Regions from separate parts of the Homo sapiens genome. Here all the other regions are linked to region 3. Evidence: promoter capture Hi-C in human tissues and cell types (Jung and others, 2019). All regions are on one chromosome and are shown on one strand. Each heading gives the region's core, a stretch centred on a gene start or on the middle of the fragment in contact. The rest is flanking DNA. Distances are from core to core; before and after follow the strand shown.

Region 1 (3,223 bases), core at 344-2,843, 1.5 Mb after region 3:
GATGTTTTTTATATTGGGATGGAAAGATGGAGCTCTTTTTAACAGCTGCGTGATATCCCATGGTGTGGACATGCTGTAGGTTACAGAGCTGTTTTCTCAGTTCTGCTGTTTCTGTGCTTGGCTTTCACAAAATGATTGTTCCCTTGAGCTTCCTTCTACAAGTGGCCTTGGGCTGTTAAGGAGAATGAGGTCTTGGTAGCTCAAGGCAATGCGTGCGTTCTTATTTTCCCAGCTTGCACTCTCTCATGCTTGGGCCAATTGGAGGTTTTCTCTTTTCCCCCCTGCCTCCGCTCCCCTGCTGTCAGGTTTTAGCGGCTTATCTGGTCTGGGCTTAGAAATTAGATACCCTTTAGTATAAAATCAGAGTCCATAGGCTCTGAGAGGATTATCTGAGAAAGGGTGCAGGAATTTTCATGCCCACACATAGTGAGCTCTGTCGCGACTCCTTGGGATTGTCGGTTTTTGTGTTTTGGCTTCCTTCTGGGATCCTGGATCACGTTTTTGGCAGTTGAGGGTGCTGTCTGACCGGGCTCCAGCTGGGTAGAATGTGGGAGTGTTGCATAGAATTTTGAGAGTGAGATCTATAAACACTTGGGTCAAATTTCAAGAAGATAAAGTTCTGTCAGACTTCAAGGTCCATCTGAGGGTTTGGCAAAGCAAAAAAGATACCAGTTTTAAATTAAGCAGTAATTGCTCTGTTTTGGTTGTTGGATATTACTGAGCGGGCTCTTGCCAGTCACATCAAGTCTGTTATCTCTGGACTCACAGCAGAGGGGGGGCATTGTAAGAGGCAGGAGATTCTGCAGCTGAGCTTCAGGCATGGGCAAGACTAAGGAACTGAATTCCCCGCCACCCCAAGACCACATTCCGTATTATAATCTCTGAACACAAAGGGCAGCCCCGGAGAGCTGCGGCTCCCATATTCTGCAGTTAAATCCCTCAGCGTGGGGGAGAGGCACACAGCCTTGGCAGGCAGAGTAGATGCTGGAGAGACAGATGCTTTTTCTGCAGCATTTGGTGAGGCTGCCTCGGGCTGGCATTTCTGTTGCCACATTCTCAGCAAAGACTGAACACCCTGGCCTGATCTCGGTGGTGAAAGAGCTCCTGCCAACACGGGCAGCCTTCTCACAACGGCTCGGCCTTTCCCTAAAGAAAGGTTTAGTCCAGAAAGGACTCAGTGGGACCCAGGTGGAAAGGCTGTCTTGAGCTCATTCATCTGAAGCTTTTATTCTGTGAGAGGTCCTAGTCAGGGGTTCAGCTTTCCCAGATAAAGAAATCACTGTTGGCCGGGCGCGGTGGCTCACGCCTTTAATCCCAGCACTTTGGGAGGCCGAGGCGGGCGGATCACGAGGTCAGGAGATCGAGACCATCCTGGCTAACATGGTGAAACCCCATCTCTACTAAAAATACAAAAAAATTACCCAGGCATGGTGGTGGGCACCTATAGTCCCAGCTACTGGGCAGACTGAGGCAGGAGAATCGCTTGAACCCGGGAGGCGGAGCTTGCAGTGATCCGAGATGGCGCCACTGCACTCCAGCCTGGGCGACAGAGCGAGACTCCGTCTCAAAAAAAAAAAGAAATCACTTACATAATTTTGTTGACCCCTCAGACCATTGCCAGGAAAATGGGCCTTTGGTTTTTCAGTCAACTTCAGTCTTACACTGCAAGTCTGCAATGAACCCGGAGAACTATTTCTTCCCACTCTTAAGCGTCTCTTCCCATTGCTCTTCACTTCTACTAGTTTGGTTTTCAGGATTCCCTGCCCCGGTGGGAGATAGCTTAGGCCAAAGTCCAGACTCCCTGTTCGTCTTCCTTCCTGGGACCATTTAGGTGGATGGTGAGTCACACCATGGATCCTATTGGTAATTCCTAGTAGCTCATGCTCAGTTTGAAGGTAGGTGATAGAAAATATTGTGCCCTAGAAGGTAGAAGTCCTAGAAAACCCCAGCAAGTTTCCCTTTTGTCTTAAGCTTTCACTCCACATTCTAAAAAGCAGAGTTGGCTGGGCGCGGTGGCTCACGCCTGAATTCCTAGCACTTTGGGAGGCGAGGCGGGTGGATCACCTGAGGTCAGGAGTTCGAGACCAGCCTGGCCAACATGATGAAACCCCTATCTCCACTAAAAATACAAAAATTAGCCAGGTGTGGTGGCACACGCCTATAATCCCAGCTACTCAAGAAGCTGAGGCAGGAGAATCGCTTGAACTTGGGAGGTAGAGGTTGCAGTGAGCCGAGATCGTGGCACTCGCTGCACTCCAGCCTCTGTGACAGGAGTAAGACTCCATCTCAAAAATAACATTAAAATAAAAAGCAGAGTTGAGCTAGACAGAATGTAAATTAGTGGTGCACAGGAAACCAGCCTGGAGACATGTTTTATTTGATTAATTTAGTATCTTTTTATTTTTTTTTTAGACAGTCTCACTCTGTCACCCAGGTTGGACAGCTCAGTGCAGCCTCAACCTCCCGGGCTCCTCCCACCCCAGACTCCTGGGTAGCTAGGACTACAGATGTGCACCACAACACCCGACTAACTAAAAGCTTTTTTTAGAGACAGGGTCTTGCTTTATTGCCCAGGCTGGTCTTGAACTCCTGGGCTCAAGTGATCCTCCCGCCTTGACCTCCCAAAGTGCTGGGATTACAGGCATGAGCCACTGTGCCCGTCTGTGTCCATTTTTAAACACCTAAAAAAATTCATATGAAATTCCTAATATCAGCTTCTCTTGGAGAAATTGGAAGGACCAGCAAATAGGGATCTATATTCCTGTAAGAACTCCATCTCCTTTGGACAGGCAGGTCCTCTCTCCTTTGCTACAAATCCATCCTCTCCCTGTCGCCCAGGCCAGCTGTCGCTTTTTTTTTTTTTTTTTTTTTAAGACAGAGTCTCACCCTGTTGCCCAGGCAGGAGTATGGTGGCGCAATCTCGGCTCACTGCAACCTCCTTCTCCTGGGTTCAAGCGATTCTTCTGCCTCAGCCTCCTGAGTAGGTGGGATTACAGGCACCTGCCACCACGCTCGGCTAATTTTTGTATTTTTAGTAGAGATGGGGTTTTGCCACGTTGGCCAGGCTGGTCTCGAACTCCTGACCTCAGGTGATCTGTCTGCCTCGGCCTCCCAAAGTGCTGGAATTACAGGCGTTAGCCACCGCGCCCAGCCTTGTCTGTTGCCTTTATTTCTGAGCTTGCCTTGTTTTTCTTGTGCTTGGTGTCCTTCACTCATTTCTTTA
Region 2 (3,153 bases), core at 105-2,604, 1.1 Mb after region 3:
CCACCCCCCGCCGCCGGCGGCCAATCCCCACCCGGGCTGGGGGGAGGGCGATGCAAATTACCCCGGATCTGGGTCCGCCCGCCCGCCTCCCCCACGCCCGGGCCCGGCCTGCGCTAGGCCGCGCATCCCCGGGCTCGCCTGCACCGCGCGGCCGCCCGGGCCGCCGCCCTCCCCGGGGAGCGCGGGGAGGGTGACCCCCCCCCCACGGGCGGGGGGCCGAGGGGAGGGGGGCTGGGGACGGTTACACAACCAGGCGGGGAGGGGCCCCGGGGCGGGGAGGGGGCCGGCCCGCGGGCCGCGCAGCCGGAAGCCGGGACCGCCACCGGCCCCCGGCGAGGGGAGCCCGGCTCCAGGCCCCGCCCCCTGGCGGGCTGGCCCCGCCCCCGCGCCGCGCCGCGCGATCGGCCCGCGCCCATTGGCTCTCCGGCCCGCCGCTCACCGCCCCTCCTCCGCACCGCCCCTACCCGCAGGCCGCGGCGGGCTGTCGGCGCGGGGCACCCTGGGACTTGTAGTCCAAGCCGCTTGCCACCTGCCGGCTGCAAACGGCGGAGGGACTACGAAGCCCAGAGGTCCCTGCGGCCCTGCCCGCCCACCCGGACACCCCACCCCTTCCCCCTCCTTTCCGAAGCCCCCCTCCCTGTTTTTTCAGCCCCCTCCCCCCCATCCCCCATGGAGCTCAATCCTGGCCAACTCCAACGTATGCACGCAGCACCGAATAGGCCCCCGGGGGGCGAGAGCGCCCCTCGTCTTCAGCTGGAAACTTAGCAGGCGACGCGCCCCCCTATCTCCCCACGCCGGCTCCCCCCACCCTCAATGCAGCCCTGCTTCCCCTCCCCCGCTCCCCGCGCGCCTGGGAGCCCCGAAAAGCCATGCACCCGGGTTGGGGGGGGCTGGCGCACAAGCTCATGCACTTAGCCCCCAATCCCCCCTTCCCGGGCGGCGCCCCCTCCCCGCGCTCGGGATCCAGGGCGCCTCCAGCCTCCGGGCAGCTGCCAACCACCCCTTCCTCTGAAACTTGGGGGAACGTCCCCGGCTCCCCGGATCTCCCCTTCCCGAGGGGGCAGCGGTGGCCGCAGCGACCCCCGCCCGTCCCCGCCCTGCACCCCGTGCCGGGGGCCGCGCCGGGCGCTGACTTACCTCGCGGGGCCGGGCCGGGGCGCGCGGGGCCGGGGCCCGAAGTTGGGACTGGGCTCCCTCGGCCGCTCGCCTCCGGGGTCCGCGGCGCTCGCTCTGCCCGCGTCGCGCTGCCCTGGTCGCTCCCTCGCGCGGCGGCGGCGGCGTCACTGCCCCTACAGTAACTGTACAGTACAGCCAAAGCCCCGTATGATGCTCGCGACTCCCTTCCTGGTTTCTCCGAGGGCAAGAGGGGTCCTCCCTTGTCTTAAAGGTGCCGCAGCCGCCGGCCCCCCCACGCCCAGCCCGCCCCCCCCAGCCTGGCCTCGGAGGCCAGAACAGGCTCGGCAGGTCCCCTCTTGCCACGTCTCTGCCCTCCCGTGGGGCTTCGCCCGCTGCGCCGGGGAGACCGGGCTGTTATTAGGTTTTGTCAAGTCGGGGGGGGGGGTCCGGCCCGCCCCGGCGCGCCCCCCCGCCTCTGACCTCTCCGCCCCGCCGCGCGGCGCCGTGCCAGCTTGCCAGCTTATCTGGCCCCAGAGCTCCCCGGGGCGCGGGGGGAGCGGGCCCCCCGGGGTGGAGGGGGGGTGGGGGCCTCCAGATAAACAGGCCCCCAGCCTCTGCGCAGGGGCGGGGTGCGGGGGGGCGCGGGCTGTGCCCCCGACGCCCGGGGCGTGGCAGGATGGCAGCGGGGGCGGGGAGCGCGGTGCGCACAGCGAGGAGCGACGCGGGCGTGTGGGTCGCGCGGCCTGGGCTGCCGGGGGTGGGTTGGGGGTGAGGCGGTGGGGATCCCCCCGCAAGGCCAGGCCCTGGGCCTCCCCGGGCCTCAGTGGGACTTGCCGCGCCAGGGACCCCGGGGGGTGGCCTTGCCAAGGACAGCCCGGGTCCGCGGGGCTCCCGGGTCCCTAAATGAAACCACCAACCTGCCCTCCCGCGATTATATAAAGGAGTCGCCTCCACCCCGCTGCGCTAGGGGCGTCAGCGGGGGAAGGGGTTGGCGAGGGGCGGGGAGGGCGGTTGTTTTCCCGGCTTCGCGAGTTCCCCCACCCGGCTGCGGGCCGCGGGGCGGGACGGGGACCGGGCCCTGGACGCCTGGTCCGCGCGGGCCGCTCCTTGGCACAAGGGGGTCTGCATGGCTCGCGAGGGGCGGAGGTGGGGAGTGGGGAGGCGTTGGTTCAGCGCGACTTTTTTTTTTCCCCTGTCCGTTTCTCCCACTTCCTCCCCGGTCGTGGGAGAGGTCCGGCGGGGGACAGGGAAGGGGGAGCAGGGCACGAGTGGTGAGAACGTCCTGGCCCGGCCCGGGGAGGGCTGGCTGGTGCGACCGCGCGCCTGGGGGGGGGGGGGAGGGCTCCAGGACTCAGTTTCCCCTTCCTCATTCCTCCAGACAGAGAGAGTACTGACAGCTGCTTTAGCTGCCGTTTAGTGAGCGCTTATCCAGTGGGTGACCCTGTTCCGGGGCTCACTGTGCCTTCATTCTAACACCTAATCCCAGGGTCATTATTATGTTTTATTATTATCTGGCATTCTTAGTACCAACACCACCTGACAGCGGGAACCACCACCGGCCTGGGTGTAGTGTACCCAGCCTGTCCTCTGACTTCAAAGCCTCTCCTGCGAGAGACACAGTTTATGGCTTCTTCGCACAATTTATTAAAAGCGCCTTTCAACACCCAAACGGGTTGGATTGGCTTTTGTAATAATAATCTGGCTACGAGGGGAAACCCGGGAGGGCCCCCCGGAGGGGAAGTGGACTGTCTCAGGACTCGCAGCCTGAAACCAGCCGGGTAGGTGGGAAGGGACCCAGGGAGGGGCCGCGTGGATCTAGGGCGAGGGTGTCATCCAGGGACTTTGCTCCAAGGACCCTGCCTGGGATAGAAATCCTTCTTCCTTCAACCACCGGCCATCAGCCTCGGGACCAGGAGGCCACGCTGAAGCACGATTCTTCCCAGATCCCACTGTTGTGTTTGGATTTCTGCAAATGATGCCCAGACGTTTTTTTTTGTTTTGTTTTTTTGTTTTTTGTTTTAGACAGACTTGCTCTGT
Region 3 (3,106 bases), core at 183-2,682:
ACTGTCAACCTCCTTTCTGCTTGTCCCCTAAAACGTTCCTCCAAACCTTTTCTTGTGTATGAAAGTAAAGCCTTTTCCTGGTTGATTTTGAGACCTGGCAGGTTTCGGAGGCTGGGGCTTATCCCTATTTTTCTCTCTCCTTCTCTAGCCAGGATTTTTTTTTTTTTTTTTTTTTTTGGTTTTTGTTTTTGAGACGGAGTCTTTCTCTGTCGCCAGGCTGGAGTGCAGCGGCGCCATGTCGGCTCACTGCAAGCTCCACCTCCCAGGTTCACGCCATTCTCCTGTCTCAGCCTCCCTGGTAGCTGGGATTGCAGGCGCCCGCCACCACGCCGGGCTAATTTTTGTATTTTTAGTAGAGACGGGATTTCGCCATGTTGTCCAGGCTGGTCTGGAACTCCTGACCTCAGGTGATCCGCCCGCCTCGGCCTCCCAAAGTGCTGGGATTACAGGCGTGAGCCACCGCGCCCGGCCCAGGATTTTATTATTTGACAGGCTCCAGGACAGGGCACCACCTCCTCCTTGGCAGACCTTCCCAAACTGACCACCAAGCCCCTGACGGCTCCTGCCCTCTCCTCCCACTCTCCCCGATCCCCTGACTGCCTCTACTGTCCCCCAACACATCCCTCGAGCCCGACTCCCTTTACTGTCCCCCCAAACTTCCCTCAAGCCCCTGATCGCCTCTACTGCCCCCCTTAAAGTGCCCCTGAGCCCCTGACTGCTTCTGCTGTCCCCTCGAGCTGCCCCCAAACTCCCGACTGCAGCTACTGTCCCCCTAAACTGCCTTCGAGCCCCTGATCACCTGTCCCCCAAAACTGCCCCTTCAAACCCATGACCGCCTCTACGGCCCCCTCAAACTGTCCCCGAGTTCCTGACCGCTGCTATTGGCCCCCTAATCTGCCCTTGAGCCTGACTCCCTTCCACTGAACCCCCAAACTGCCGCCGAGCCCCTGACCGTGTCTGTTCCCGCAAACTGCCCCTGTGCCCCTTAAACCTCTACTGTCCACTTAAATTGCCTCAAGCCCCTGACCACCTCTGCTGTCCCCACAAGCTCTCCCCAAACTCCTGACCTGTACTGTCCCCAGAAACTACCCCTCGAGCCCCTGACCGCTTTTGCTGTCACCCCAGACTGCCCCCAGCCCTACCCCTCGGCCGCTGTGACCACGTCCCCGGGGCCCAGGCGCTCGTCGTGCGCCGCCCCGCGCGTCCCTCAGCTTTCTCCGGCTGCGAACTCGGGCGGAAGCCGGTTCCTGCCGCCCCACCTCGCCCTGGGCCCGGGCTCGGCTCCCGCCCGGCACTCACCATGTCCCGCCCGCTCCTGGGCTCTCCAGGGTTAGCGCCCCGCGGTCCAGCGACCGGCGCAGGTGAGCACGACAGGACACCTGAGCCGCTCGGGGTAGGCGGGGAAGCGCGCAAGGCAGAGGGGAACTCGGCTTACCGTCCTCGGGGTCTGATTGGACAGATCTCGGGAAGTGGAGACTCTGATTGGACAGTGCTGTCGACTCCGCACCCCTGATTGGAGAATTCTCCAGTCCGTCCCCCTAGCGCCCTTGATTGGGCAGGGCTCCGCTTCGGATTAACGTCTCTGATTGGACAGTTCCCTAGGCCCCGCCCCTGCCTGTCCTGATTGGATAATTCTCTCCTCAGTGACGGGCTCGTCGAGAACACGCGTGGCTGACCCTCTAGCCGGGCAGCCGCGGATCTGGGAGAACTCACTCCAGTCCAGGGAGGGCGCGGCGTCCTCCTCCCTGACTGCACGGCAACTCCAGACTCAGTTTCCCCTCGGAGCGGCCCCTCGTGCGGGGAGGAGAGGAAGGGCACGGAGTCCCATGGGGCGGAGTCCTGCGTGGGGGCGGGACCCGCGTGCGTGACGTCACCGTGCTGTCCCGCGTGGGCGCGGACGCCTGGGGTCCAGAGACCTGGAGATCTGGAGACCAGACGACGAGGCCCCAGGAGGCCGGACCCCACCAGGCGCTCCCTGTGTTCTTAAAACTCTCGGCCGGGCGCGGTGGTTCACGCCGGTAATCCCAGCACCGTGAGAGGCGGAGACCGGCGGATCATCAGAGGTCAGGAGTTCAAGTCCAGCCTGACCAAAATGGCGAAAACCACTTCTCTCCTAAAAATACAAAAATTAGCTGGGCACGGTGGCGGGCGCCTGTAATCCCAGCTACTCCGGAGGCTGAGGCAGGAGAATCGCTTGAACCCAGGAGGCGGAGATTGCAGTGAGCCAAGATCAGGACACTGCACTCCAGCCTGGGCAACAAGAGCGAAACTGAGTCTCAAAAAAAAAAAAAGCAGCCCTCCCACAAACAGAACCACGTAAGGTCATGAAGAGAGAGGTCTCACATTTATATGCTTAATAACGAAAAAGACTCTACAAAAACCACAGGCTTAAACAAAAAATACTTTTACAGGGACACTCAGACTGGTGTGACCCTTGTTACTGATCTTTGTAGACAAGGATAATTATTTCTGAAAAATGATGTAATCCTCATTTAAAATTTTTTTTTTCCTTTATAAACCTTTGTCCCAGTCTGGGCAACATGGCAAAACCCCATATATACAAAAAATACAAAAATTAGCTGGGAATAAAGGAGTGTGCGCCTATGGTCCCAACGACTTGATAGGCTGAAGCAGGAGGATCGCTCGAGCCCGTGGGGATTGAGGCTGCAGTGAGCTGTGATCTCACCATTGTACTCCAGCCTGGGCAACAGAGACCCCCGTCTCAAAAAAATGAAAACCAAAAACAACCTTTGTCTTCCTTTACCTCCCTGAATAAGCACATAGTTTGCTATGCCGCGCATATTCCCACTGCAATGAACTGTTACCACCGTTTTTAGACAGCCTGTTATTTAGGTCGACACAGTAAAAACATGAATTACGACAATTATGTTTGTATGTAAAATGGCAAGCGATATAGAGTTTATACTTCTACTCTGTCTCAAGCTGGAAAGTCTTTTCGGAGATGAGCAGTCGCGTTCCAGGCTTTAGGAATTGCGGCTCAACTGAATAAAAGTATTCAGAATTTTCACGTCGAGTTCAAATTTATTTAAACTTCTATGATTATTTTCTCAAATGAGTTAAAATAAGAATTCAATTACCATAGGAA

The links. Contacts are between HindIII fragments. The study calls those that stand out against the background at their distance.
Region 1: a fragment that was not itself captured here is called in contact with the fragment with the promoter of ZNF77 in region 3 in 1 of the 25 tissues and cell types used here (dorsolateral prefrontal cortex).
Region 2: the fragment with the promoter of ZBTB7A here is called in contact with the fragment with the promoter of ZNF77 in region 3 in 1 of the 25 tissues and cell types used here (spleen).

The regions. Positions count from the first base shown.
Region 1 is chr19:4,414,608-4,417,830 of GRCh38, forward strand. The region is part of intron 3 of CHAF1A (chromatin assembly factor 1 subunit A); the gene reads left to right. Among named protein-coding and RNA genes, the nearest start is that of CHAF1A, 14 kb to the left of the region's middle. The HindIII fragment of the contact is 3,051 bases long and covers 69-3,119 here.
Region 2 is chr19:4,065,545-4,068,697 of GRCh38, forward strand. ZBTB7A (zinc finger and BTB domain containing 7A) reads right to left here and starts at 1,355. Exons shown (of 3, transcript NM_015898.4): 1 at 1,138-1,355. RefSeq lists silencers at 1-655, 1,136-1,335, 1,346-1,395, 1,436-1,495, 1,706-1,815 and 2 more. The HindIII fragment of the contact is 23,363 bases long and covers 1-3,153 here.
Region 3 is chr19:2,943,539-2,946,644 of GRCh38, forward strand. It overlaps ZNF77 (zinc finger protein 77), which reads right to left and starts at 1,433. Exons shown (of 4, transcript NM_021217.3): 1 at 1,300-1,433. The coding sequence starts at 1,302. RefSeq lists silencers at 1,129-1,208, 1,349-1,598 and an enhancer at 1,669-1,828. The HindIII fragment of the contact is 6,632 bases long and covers 1-3,106 here.